Regions from separate parts of the Homo sapiens genome. Here region 1 is linked to region 2. Evidence: promoter capture Hi-C in human tissues and cell types (Jung and others, 2019). All regions are on one chromosome and are shown on one strand. The core of a region is centred on a gene start or on the middle of the fragment in contact, and the rest is flanking DNA. Distances in the headings are between cores, read along the strand shown.

The links. The method cuts DNA at HindIII sites, captures the fragments that hold promoters and counts their contacts. A contact is called where the count stands out against the background at its distance.
Region 1: the fragment with the promoter of CELA3A here is called in contact with a fragment that was not itself captured in region 2 in 2 of the 25 tissues and cell types used here (spleen and thymus).

Annotation. Positions count from the first base shown.
Region 1 is chr1:21,996,840-22,003,299 of GRCh38, forward strand. CELA3A (chymotrypsin like elastase 3A) reads left to right here and starts at 4,818. Exons shown (of 8, transcript NM_005747.5): 1 at 4,818-4,878; 2 at 6,164-6,249. The coding sequence starts at 4,836. It also overlaps a transcript of CELA3B not described here. The HindIII fragment of the contact is 21,174 bases long and covers 1-6,460 here.
Region 2 is chr1:21,675,632-21,681,767 of GRCh38, forward strand. USP48 (ubiquitin specific peptidase 48) reads right to left here. Exons shown (of 27, transcript NM_032236.8): 26 at 5,177-5,203; 27 at 2,667-3,808. The coding sequence ends at 3,786. Among named protein-coding and RNA genes, the nearest start is that of RAP1GAP, 9.3 kb to the left of the region's middle. The HindIII fragment of the contact is 5,470 bases long and covers 1,497-6,136 here.

The DNA of each region.
Region 1 (6,460 bases), core at 3,568-6,067, 320 kb after region 2:
TGGTGGCTTCTTTGTACCACAGGTGGGGCACCTGCAGGGCCTCCTTCCCCATCCCTGACACTGCTGACCCATCTGAGACAGCTGGGGCTGGTAGCTGGGAAATGTTGACCTGTAGTCATCAAAGAGATCAGAATCCGGTTTTTAAGAATTTATTCCAGCAAAAATCTGAGAATAGTCATCCAGAAACATGGGCTCCAGAGAAGAGGAGTAAGTGCTCCAAAGTTAAAAGTTAAAGTCCCGCCGGGCGTGGTGGCTCACGCCTGTAATCCTGGCATTTTGGGAGGCTGAGGCGGGCAGATCATTTGAAGTCAGGAGTTTGAGACCAGGCTGGCCAACCTGGTGAGACCCCATCTCTACTAAAAATACAAAAAATTAGCCGGGCGTGGTGGTACATGCCTGTAACCCCAGCTACTTGGGAGGCTGAGGCAGGAGAATTGCTTTAACCTGGGAGGCAGAGGTTGCAGTGAGCTGAGATCGTGCCATTGCACTCCAGTCTGGCACGACTCATCTCAAAAAAAAAAAAAAGAGCAAGACAAGAGCAAGACTCGTCTCAAAAAAAAAAAAAAATGCTGGGCGTGGTGGCTCACGACTGTAATCCCACACTTTGGGAGGCCAAGGTGGGTGGATCACCTGAGGTTAGGAGTTTGAGAACAGCCTGGCCAATGTGGTGAAACCCTGCCTCTACTAAAAATCCAAAAATTAGCCTGGTGTGGTGGCAGGTGCCTGTAATCCCAGCTACCTGGGAGGCTGAGGGCAGAAGAATCACTTGAACCCGGGAGGCGAAGGTGGCAGTGAGCCGAGATCTAGCCATTGCACTCCAGCCTGGGGGACAAGAGTGAGACTTCGTCTCCAAAAAAAAAAAAAAATTATGATCTTGCTCATACAGGCAGGAAACAAATTTAGTAGGACTATAACATTTCTATACCAGGCTGGTTTATGAGTTACAACAATATAGCTAGTTAAAATTTGTCTTCTTTTCCATACACTTTGTTTTATTTTCCTTTCCAATTTGTGTATTTAACATTCTATCTTAGATAATGTGATAGTCATGAAGTCTTTGTGTGAGAGAGAAAAGAAGGAAGTTAATCTATAATGAAGATTGACTGTTGAGAGGGAAACAGTCTGCCCTGTCACCCTTTAGTCATTTACAACATTTTATAAAACAATGTAGTTAAGGAAAAGCTAATCGATAACACAAACAAAAGTTATGCCTTCCTGTTTACATTACTCAGGTCCCATAATCTCATTCCCTTAAGTCTAAGGTATTTTAAAGTTCCAACAGCTTAGATTTTGAATATCTTATTTTCACAGAAACTACAGGGCAACAAGGCACCAGAGTCCCGGACTTAGGACCACTGTGTGTGATTCACCGTGAACACTGGCATATTAAAGGCTCTGAGAAGTCCTGTAGGAAAGGACAATTTGAACTTTGTTTGAGCTCATATTTTCCAATCCCATCTGACCTTTAGTTCTTCACTGAGTGCCCACTGGGTTATATTCTGGGAGCCGAGGCCACAGCAGTGAACAAAGCACACAAAACCCCCCGCCCCATGGGGGCTCCGTTCTAGTGGGTCCATTTATCATCAAACATCTATTAATATCTCTAGAATGTGCCCATCAGGACACCATCCAGATGCTGCTGCGCTTTTCCAGGCCACACAGAGGGGACACCCTCCAGGTGCATCCTGCATGAATATCAGGCTCAACCGTGCTTTCAGGGTAGGAAGCGGAGGGCATTTGAAGAGTCCTTTCCCTTCCTTCATTCATTTGTTGTCTCCTTGAATAAATGCTGTTGAAAACCTACCATGTGCCAGGCTCCCTTCTAGGTACTGGGAATCGGAAGATGAATAAGATAAAGTTTTGATCCTCAAAGAGCTTCCTGTGGGGTGGGAACTGGAAAGAATGGAACTCCCCCAGTCCCGGGAAAAAGGCTCACCAGCTTCCCCTCCGTCCCCTCGCCAGCTTCCCCGCCCTCCCTCTCCTTCCCAGACTGACCTCCTAATTTTGCATACTCTCCGACCTAACCTCCACCTCCCATTCAGGAAATGGCTTGCTTTGCTTCAGGCTGAGGCCTAAAGTAGATCTAACCCCTCCATCTTCCCTCTTGCGGGGCAGGTGTTGGAAGGAGGTTCATCTTCAGGGATTTCACTCAAGCTACTCCTAGGCCAGAAAACCCTCGGAGAGTTAATCAGCCGTGCAACTGCCAGTGTCAGTCCATAAGGCCTTGAAGTAACCAATCAGGCAGGGGTTGTGGTGGGACAGTTGGCGTCAGGGAGCCCCTCTCCCTGGGGACCCAGCAGAGCCGACAGAGAGGCTGGGACTTGCTCAAGGTCACCTGGGTAAGAAGCCGGGAAGGCTTCTCGGTTGAAGTTGGGGGAGGGAGAGTGGACCCTCCCGTGTCCGTGGGCTACCCTTCACCAGGCCAAGCAGTAACAAACCAGGGAAACTTGACCAAGTCCTGGCTTTTCTCTGGGTCATCATTTTCTTCTTCTTTTTTTTTTTTTTGTGACAGAGTTTTGCTCTTATTGCCCAGGCTGGAGTGCAATGGCACGATCTCGGCTCACCGCAAACTCCGCCTCCCAGGTTCAAGCGATTTTCCTGCCTCACCCTCCCTAGTAGCTGGGATTACAGGCATGTGCCACCACACCCGGCTAATTTTGTGTTTTTAGTAGAGATGGGGTTTCTCCATGTTGGTCAGGCTGGTCTCGAACTCCTGACCTCAGGTGGTCCACCCTCCTCGGCCTCCCAAAGTGTTGGGATTACAGGCGTGAGCCACTGTGCCTGGCCCATCATTTTCCCTTCTGTCAAATAAAAGTGGTTGGATTAGATCGCGTTTTAGGCCCTGTGGGTTTCAGACACTCTACAGTGGAATCTGGGCTTATCGGACCTAACCCTATCTCTCCCCAGCCACCTCCTGGGCCCCTCCCTCCTTCTTCCCTGGCGTAGGGTCTGGGGAATGGCTCAGAGCTTTCAAGCTGAGCAAACATGTCCGGGCACATAGGGAACAGAGGGTAGGGGAGGGCATGGCTATTTTTATCACAGTATAAAGGATTTTCACAGCTGCTTCCCTTGTGTCCACACACGTTCCACGAACCCAGGCTATCAGAGTGGCTAGGCTGTGATTGGAGGGGGTTCACTCCTAAAACAAAACCTGCTCAGCAAGATGCCTGACTTTCCCCCAGGAGGGATCTATTTAAATTGCCCCGTCTGGCCGGATGCAGTGGCTCATGCCTGTAATCCCAGTACTTTGGGAGGTCGAGGTGGGTGGATCACCAGAGGTCAGGAGTTGGAGACCAGCCTGGCCAACATGGTGAAACCCCGTCTCTACTAAAAATACAAAAATTAGCCGGGCGTGGTGGTGCGCGCCTGTAATCCCAGCTACTCAGGAGGCTGAGGCAGGAGAATCGCTTGAACCCGTGAGGTGGAGGTTGCAGTGAGCCAAGATCGCACCACTATAAAAAAAAAAATCTATTGTGTGAATATGCTACACATATTGACCTATGAACCTTGATGGACGTGGGAGTTGTTTCTAGGTCTTTGCTGTTGAGTTTTGAGAACAGGGGCTGCGGCAAACAATCTCATCCACACCTCCTGGAGCACATGCCTAAGGTTTTCTCACGGTATAGACCTAGGAGGGAAACGGCTGGATCACCTGTGAATTCCACTTTCGGGGTCGCCTGCTCTTTGACCTCATCTCCCACCCCTCTCTACTTTGACTACCAAGCTCCTGTCACACTGGCCTCCCCTTCCTTGAACAAGTCAAGCCCATTGCAGCCTCCAGAACTTCGCACCTGCTGTCGCCTCCCTTCAGAGCGCGTTTCTTTCAGGGATTCCCGTGGCTGGCTTTTACTTATCCTCAGGACTCCATCAGATATGACCTCCTCAGCCCAAATGTCACTTTCTCTGTCCCCCCCATCTAAATGACTTACTCCCATTCCTACCCCAATCACCTATGTTTCATTTTCTTTTCTTCTCTGTTTTTTTTTTTGGTTTTGTTTTTGTTTTTTGAGACAGTGTTGCTCTGTGGCCCAGGCTGGAGTGCAGTGGCATGATCTCGGCTCTCTGTAGCCTCTGCCTCTCCGCTCCCAGGTTCAAGTGATTCTCCTCCCTCAGCCTCCCAGTAGCTAGGATTACAGGTGCTGGGATTACAGGTGCTCACCACCACACCTGGCTAATTTTTGTAGTTTTAGTAGAGATAGGGTTTCATCATGTCTCGAACTTCTGACCTCAAGTGATCCTCCCACCTTGGCCTCCCAAAGCGCTGGGATCACAGGTGTGAGCCACCGCTCCTGGCCTAGACTCAAACTCTAGAAGGGCTGAGACCATGCATTTTTCACAGCTGTATCCCCTAGAACAGTGCCTGATACATAGAGAAAAAGTGCTCAACAAGAATTTTTTTGTGGAGGTGGGTACTAATATAAATCTCATGTTAGAGAGCAGAAAACTGAGACTCAGAGAGGTTAAGCCATGCGCCCAAAGTCGCAGAGCTTGAAGGTGGCAGAACCAGGATTGAACCGTGGTCTGCCCGGTTCCAGTGCCCCTGTTCTTTCCGAAAGAGGAGGTCTTGTCCTGACATGAGCTTTTCTTCCTGAACTCTTGTTATCAGTTGGCCACTCCACACCACCTGTCCAGCCACCTGTTGGAGGGAACGCTAGGTCCTCCCTTTGGCTGTCACTTGTCCATCTGCAGCAGGCGAGGACTGTGGCCTTGGACCATGGGAGACCTGGAGTTCCACCACCTGTTCTGGGAGTGGGGCCCAATCAGCCCCCCTGCTTACCTTCTGCCCTATATTAGAGCCCCAGGCTCTGTGCCCTTTTCCTATCATCACAAAACTCATGATGCTCCGGCTGCTCAGTTCCCTCCTCCTTGTGGCCGTTGGTAAGACCCCAACCTGTCTGTGTGCTCCCTGGGCTGCCCTGGACTAGGAATCCTTGAAATCTACCACTCGCTCTGAGTCCCATGACATGCTATGCCTGGTTCCACAGGAGGGGGTCTCAGCTTGTACCCGGGGGCATGACTGTAGGGGCTTTCAGCTTATGATGGAGCAGGAGAGTGGAGGGGAAGCTGTGGATGGTGAAAGACCCCCAAAGGGCTGTGGTGGAAGTCCTTGATGGGGGCAGTAAACAAAGTCAAACGGTTAAGAGTTTGGACTGTGTGGTTGGACTTCTTGGGTTGGAATTTCCACAGTTCTACTTACCACTCCAACTCTCCTCTCACTCCCCCTACCTGGCTCCATATTCTATGCTCTGGCCTTTTCCTGGTCTCTCTGCCATATTACATTCCAGCTCAGGGCCACCTCTTCCAAACAGCCTCCCTTGACTGACAATAATGGTAACAGATAACATTGATTGAGTGCTTACTATGCCAGGCAGAATGTTTAGGGATTTTCTTATACTTTCTCATGTAATTCTCACAACAGCCTCAGGAGATCAGTACTATCATTATCCCCCATTTTACTGACCCTCAAGGAAGTAAAGTAGCTTATCATAGAACAAAAGGCAGAGCTGCACTTAATGTTTTTATTTTTTGCTTTTTTTTTGTAGAGATGGGGTCTTGCTTTGTTGCCCAGACTGGTCTCAAAATCCTGGCCTCAAGCAATCCTACCACCTTAGCCTCCTGAGTAGCTGAGATTATAGGCACATGCCACCATACCTGGCTACTTTATTTTATTGTACTTTATTTTTCTAGAGATGAGGTCTTGCTATGTTGCCCAGGCTGGTCTCAAACTCCCGGGCTCAAGCGATCCTCCCGCCTCGGCCTCTCAGAGCACTAGGATTACAGGTGTGAACCACCACACACAGCCCAGAGCTGCACTTTGAACCCAGGAAGTCCTTCTTTAAAGCCTCCACTCTGTATGACAATAGCTCTCACTTTTTGAGGGCTCATCGAGGGCCAGGCATTGTTCTAAGTGTATCAAGCTCTTCAATCCTCCCAATGAAGGAGGCCACATTTGAATCTCTATCCCTGGACTCCTGGGATTCTGGAAAGCCCTGCTCTAGTTTAAATGTTCACTGTTCATATGTGGTTACTGAGGTCCAGAGGGCGAAAGGGGCTTGCATGGGGTCACACAGCCAGTTGAAGGCATGGCTTGGACTGGGACCCTGGCCTCCTCTTTGCTTTTGGGGACCCTCCAGCTGATTGACAGCTCTCCTCTCCCCTCTAGCCTCAGGCTATGGCCCACCTTCCTCTCACTCTTCCAGCCGCGTTGTCCATGGTGAGGATGCGGTCCCCTACAGCTGGCCCTGGCAGGTAAGAGCAATAGCAGCTGCCCTCATTCCCACCGTGGGCTCTGGACCCTAAGCTCTAATGGCGTGGCATCCAGCCTTGACACCATTGCTCCCTTTGCAATGTCCACTTCAGCTTCCAAAGACCAGGCAGCCCTTGGACCATCTACTTCACGGGGAGGTTTTGCCCGTTTCATCTGTAACCCTCACTGGGCTATTTGCAACTTAAAATTGGA
Region 2 (6,136 bases), core at 2,982-5,481:
TTCTTGGTTACAAGGTAAATGGTGAAATTATCTGTAACACAGGTGGCCCAACTTCTACAACTCCACACTTTCAACACTTGCCTGTATGTTTATGTGCTATCTGGATAGCTAGCAGACTCCTTAGCCCAATTAACAGCCAGAATGGAAAAAAAAAAAAAAAAAAAATCCAAGGTTTGAGATATATGGGATGGAGAAGTGGTTTTGTCTGCCAATGAGACTGTCTACCTGGCACACACTACCTGACACAGAAATGTTGCTCAGGGAAATCAACAAAGTGCTACCTACCATTTTACAAATGTTTATAATTTGTACTTTAATGAAAAATAGAGGGTTCGAATAATGTTGATAAATCCCCAGCCAGTATTTCTGCCTACAGAATGTCTAGGAGATGGGTGTGTGTGTGTGTGTGTGTGTGTGCGCGCGCGCGTGTGTGTGTGTTTTGGGTGGGGGTGGTGATGCCAGCTTTCAGAAGTAGAAATGTTGTTGACAAAACCCTGTACTCTGGGGTGGGGGTGGGAGTATGGGGCGTTATCACAGACATGCACATTTTTTTTTTGTGACAAGGTCTCACTCTGTCGCCCAAGCTGAGTGCAGTGGTGTGATCACAGCTCACCGCAGCCTCGACCTCCTGGGGTCAAGCAATTATCCTGCCTCAGCCTCCAGAGTAGCTGGGACCACCGGCATACCTGGCTAATTTTTGCTTTTTTATAGAGATGAAGTCTCACTATGTTTCTCAGGCTGGGAAAATCTTCTTAAAATGAAAACGCTGGCTTTTAATCTGCATGCACTCTGTTCGCAGTCCCCTATTAACACTGAATGAGCTGAGGACTAAAGTACCCAAGAGAAAGGATATGATTCTGCCCCATGATTCGGTAACAGGAAAGACAGGCTTTCTTGCTCATTTCGCTTCAGCGGTTTGTTTAGACAGAGATAAATCATCCCTTGGGTTTTTAAAACAGGTTATTCAACCTGAGCATTAGATTCCAATATTAACCAGAGTCTGATGAACAGATCTATGACCACATAGACCAACCAAAAGCACATTTAAAATAACCAAAAAATTCACTATGGATTATGCTCCCACAGAAATAAAGGGACACTCATATCTTTTAAATTTGGCAGGAAGGTAACAGTAATTCTAAACAATAGAGTTCATAAATACACAGAAAGATACTTACTCCCCAGGAAATGAAGACACCCAAATGCAGCCTATATTTCAGTTCGTGGTGACAATCTGTACCAGTGTAGTATGCTGAACACATTCGTTTCAGATTAAAGAATGGTCAGAAATATCAAGGGGAAAAGACCCAAGCTTCATAATACCTTATACCGGAGACTGATCTAATATAAAAAAGTACACATGCATGGCATTAGAACCCCAACACAAAGAGTCTCTGAACTTTTCACAGTCCAGAAGGCAAATGGACTCCATCTATTCATAATTACAGACGAAACGAGAATCGGGCTTTAGGTCATACCCTTTACCTGTTTTTCCCTGTACCAAGTGAGAAGGGTGGCAATGCAAAACCATTCAATACAAGCATACGTTTCTTTGCAACTCTGCCTACTATGGGTGGGAGAGGCCCCAAGCCCAGGGTTTCAAAGAGTACAGGAGTGGCCTGTGGATGCAGATTCCGATTCAGCGGGTCTAGGGCCTGAGCTCCTGCCTTGGTAATAAAGCTTCACAGTGTCACTGGAGCCGCTGGGCTGCAGTTACTTTCAGCAGTGCTGGCAGAACAAGGCAAGTTGTCAGAGCAGGAGGAAGATGACCCTGAGCCAAGGGCAGACTCTTGCAGCATCACCTGCTCACTCGGTGCCCACCCCACCCCTGGACAGAGATAATAAAGAAGCCAGTACTCAGAGCAGGTACCACCAGCCTGAAAGATTTACAAAAGGCTGTTATTTCGTAGCATTGCAGGAGGAAAAAATACCCAAGTAACAAATTTCAAAACTGTTATCAACAGCAAATTGGGGAAAATATATCAGATTTCTGGGGGCTGCTAACATGTTTATGTCAATCCCCAAAAAGAACCTTCTCTGGCCAACAAGCTTCTTTGTAAGGAAAAGGAAGTGGCTTCAATCAAGCATTGTGCGAACTTTTATAAAAGTCTTTACCTTGGGAAAGAAGAAGTTTGTGTTATTAGTTTTAGGCTCCTGCATTCATTTCTTTGGAGCTAATAAAACAATGAGATCTAAAAATCAGGATCCATCAGCTCAACTTCAAGTCCTTCCCCTGTGCCAACCTCAAGGCCAGAACAGTTGGTCCCTTGGTTCCACTCCTAGGATGGTTTCTCAGGGGGCTGTGTGCAGCTCTCACCTTCCCCCATAGATAGGCTCATTAGAGACCCCCTGCCTCCTCAGGGGACACAGACTGAAGACATTAGAAACACAGAGGGGAAACACAAACACGAAGTTAGAATTTTACCAAATGGCCGTAATTACTCTGACAAAAGGAGCTATTCAAAAGGGATGCTGCCAAGGTTATCGGGTCTCAAATCAAAATCTGCCTTCCCCATCCATGATCTGAGTTCACATTTTCATGAAAGGGGGAAAAAGCCTTGCACAAACCCAAGGCCAAGAAAAGTGTTAACAAGAGAGATGCCTAAGCTAGCATCTCAGCCACAAACTTACACAGACGGACTCAACAGAGAAAACTTTTTTTTTTTTTTCAAAGGAAAAACTCCAGTCTTAAGTTCAATTAAAAAAACCCCTTCAATATTCTTAAGAATATTGCTTCGGTTACGTGTTGCTAAGAATGATAATCCTGAGTTGGATGGACAGCACATCCATATACTTTTTTCCTTTTTTAAACAATGATCTAAGAGACCCTCTCAGGGCATTTTGGAATAATGCTTTCAAAAAGAGAACTGAGGTCCAAGAAACAGTGACATGGAGGACAGGAAGAACAAATTTTATAGAAACCTTGTGTTATCCAAATGTACTTCAGTCTGATTTACTCTTCTGATAGGTAGTCAGATTTTTTATTTTCAAACGTGCCAGGTACATTTCCCACTTTTGAATAACAGCAAAACCGGAAGAGGATGCTTTCACACATAATAAATGTTCTCCATCCTTTCTGAAATGCACCAAAGCAAAAAGCCTCTGAAGTCAAAACATGAGACATAATTCCTTGCTCATTGCAGGAGACATGCAGGTGCCCCCTCCTTTACCCAATACCAAGAGACAGACGGCCGGGCAGGTGTAAGGCGGGTGGCGCTGCAGCTGACATGGAGAAGAGTCTAAATCTGAAGACACTTTTCCACACTTAGGACAAGTTCTTCACTTTCATGCTTTATTGAAAGTAGAATATGAATCAAAGACAGGCATTGGTAAGCAGGTTATGTCTCTAAAATTACTTTTCGTTCAGAGCAGAATGTTGTCCCATCTACTTGATACAATCCTTTATGGACCAACGCATCTGGTATGAAACTCGAGCAAGGAAATATAACAGAACTTTATTCCCCTCCCACGACTATAAATCTCATATGTAAACATGATTTACTATTACTGCTACTAAACTTGTTCCGTCTTTACTTGCCCCCTCCCACCCACCACCCCCCTTAAATATAAAATTGGAAACATTTCCTTCAAGTCTGATGTCCATCAGTGCAATCTGCTTTATTTGACATAAGGCATTTGGGACAGTCACGTTTGAATGGATTTCTGCCTTTTGGAAGGGGCATGTAATGGTTTAATTCTTAAATCCACCTTTGCTTTAATGCCCTAACATGTCAAACTCCTCTTCCCCTCTGGTCATTTCTTAGCAGTCAGCAAGTATTCAAAGATTAATGTCCAAGAAGACCAGTACCTGGGAAAAGAAACACACGTGGAGGGATAGTTGTGAACTACAGATTAAAAGTTCATGGATTCCATTTACCAAGAACACATCATCAACAGGGAGCATCAAATTTAATAAATGAACACAGTCGCACCTTGGTGTGGGAGGATAAGACAAAATACCAGCAGACTCCAGGCTCTCCGCTAAATCACATTTTTGTTGAAAGCCATGTGCTTCCTAAGTGTATCTTCACACAAACTAACCAGATTTTATTGATTCTTTCATTTAATGACCATTCTTCTTTTCTGAGAGTTTCACTCTTGTCGCCCAGGCTGGAGTGCAGTGGTGCAATCCTGGCTCACTGCAACCTTATCTCCCAGGTTCAAGCATTCTCCTGCCTCAGCCTCCCAAGTAGCTGAGATTACAGGCGCACGCCACCATGCCCGGCTAATTTTTGTATTTTTAGTAGAGATGGGGTTTCACCATGTTGGCCAGACTGGTCTCGAACTCCTGACCTCAAGTGACCCACCCGTCTCAACCTCCAAAAGTGCTGGGATTACAGGCGTGAGCCACCATGCCCGGCCAATGACCATTTTTCATAAAGACGTTTTTTGCTTTGTTTTGACCCCATCAGGAGTCCCTTTGTAATGGTAGCATGCAGACAACACAGCTGCAGCAAGAGGAAGACTTTATTTTGGCCAGTAGATTTGTCTCTCATTTGCTTTAGCAAGGAATAGCTGGTATGTGATTCAAAGTCATTCCTTAGAAAATCACAACCTGCCAGGGGCTTCTGGAGTGGCCAGCAAAGAATCAAGACAGCAACAGGAAAATCCGAAAACGTCAGAGGTCTGTATTTGATGACTTCTTGAATATTATCGGTGTGCACAACTACATGGCCCAGATGTAGTACGAGCACCACCGTGTCTCCTCTTGAAGTAATAATCCAACAAATGCCTTAATGCTAAGTGATTAATTAAATCTTTTCACTGGACTTGATAAAACCTGACAAATTCTTGTGCCACTAATTCTTAATAGTTACACACTGTTTTGCTCTAGGAGGGGACTTGATAGGAAGAACTGGGAAAAGGTTAAAAATAAATCTTGAAATGCCACTAGCTAATTTCCCAACCTCCCATAAAATGAGAAAGGGAAGGCCAAATGGACATCTGGCAAGAAACAGTTCTAACACAAAAGCCCCAGCTGAGGCCCCATTTGAGGCCTGAGTGTTGAAAAAGATAATGAAGAAGCTTGAGTAAGAAATGCATTTAACTAAAATTAATTTCAGTCATGAGACTCAGATTGGATTAAAATTTAAAATCAAATTATAGCCTTCGCTTTAACAGAAAATTACAGGATGACTCTGACATTCATGAACAAAACATGACAAATGTAACTTACCTTTAAACCCTTCTTCTGGCATACAAACTGAAAAAAAGAAAAAAAGAAGAATTCCAAATTGAAAAGATTGTCGTGACAGACAGTAATATCATTTCAATGCTTAAAGACAAAAGTTTAAAATAACTTTTGATTACCTTTGTCACCTGTAATAATCATCTTTGAAGTTACGGATGTTACTAATTTCAGAACAATCTTTGTTTCTGTTTTTATCAAAGCAATACGTATGCATCATTTAAAAAGTCAAATACTGACAGGACAAGGTTTGTAACTAGGGCACACCTAGTGCACGACTCTAGGAGTGGCCTGGGAGGAAGCCATGTAACTGACTCCTCTGGAGCTGTCTCTCTCCCCTTCCTCCTCCCATTCCCAAGTTCTGGAAGGAGTCACTTTTGACTCACACAGCAGCTTCTTCTGGTATTTAGCCTATTTCTAAATAACATGCTTTTCATAATTTTATTTACTTTTTTTTTTTGAGAGGGTGTCCAGCTCTGTCACCCAGAATGGAGTGCAGTGGCATGATCTCGGCTCACTGCAACCTCTGCTTCCTGGGTTCAAGCAATTCTCCTGCCTCAGCTTCCCAAGTAGCTGGGATTACAGGCACCCACCACCACACTTGGCTAATTTTTGTATTTGTAGTAGAGACAGGGTTTCACCACGTTGGCCAGGCTCGTCTCGAACTCTTGACCTCAAGTGATCCGCCCGCCACAGCCTCCCAAAGTGATGGGATTACAGGAGTGGGCCATCGTGCCTGGCCTACTTCATAATTTTAGATAAAAATCTAATAAATTCTTCAGTGAAGGATACAAACAGCTGTTTTACCACTTACATAGCACCTGCCCCGACCCATCCTCCTGATGAAGTGGTGTTTGTTGTTGTTAAGCCAGTCTCCAGCGCTGGCATTACTTTTTACGCCATTAATACTAGTCACAGTTGAATGCCTTGGTGCACCTTGGTTATATT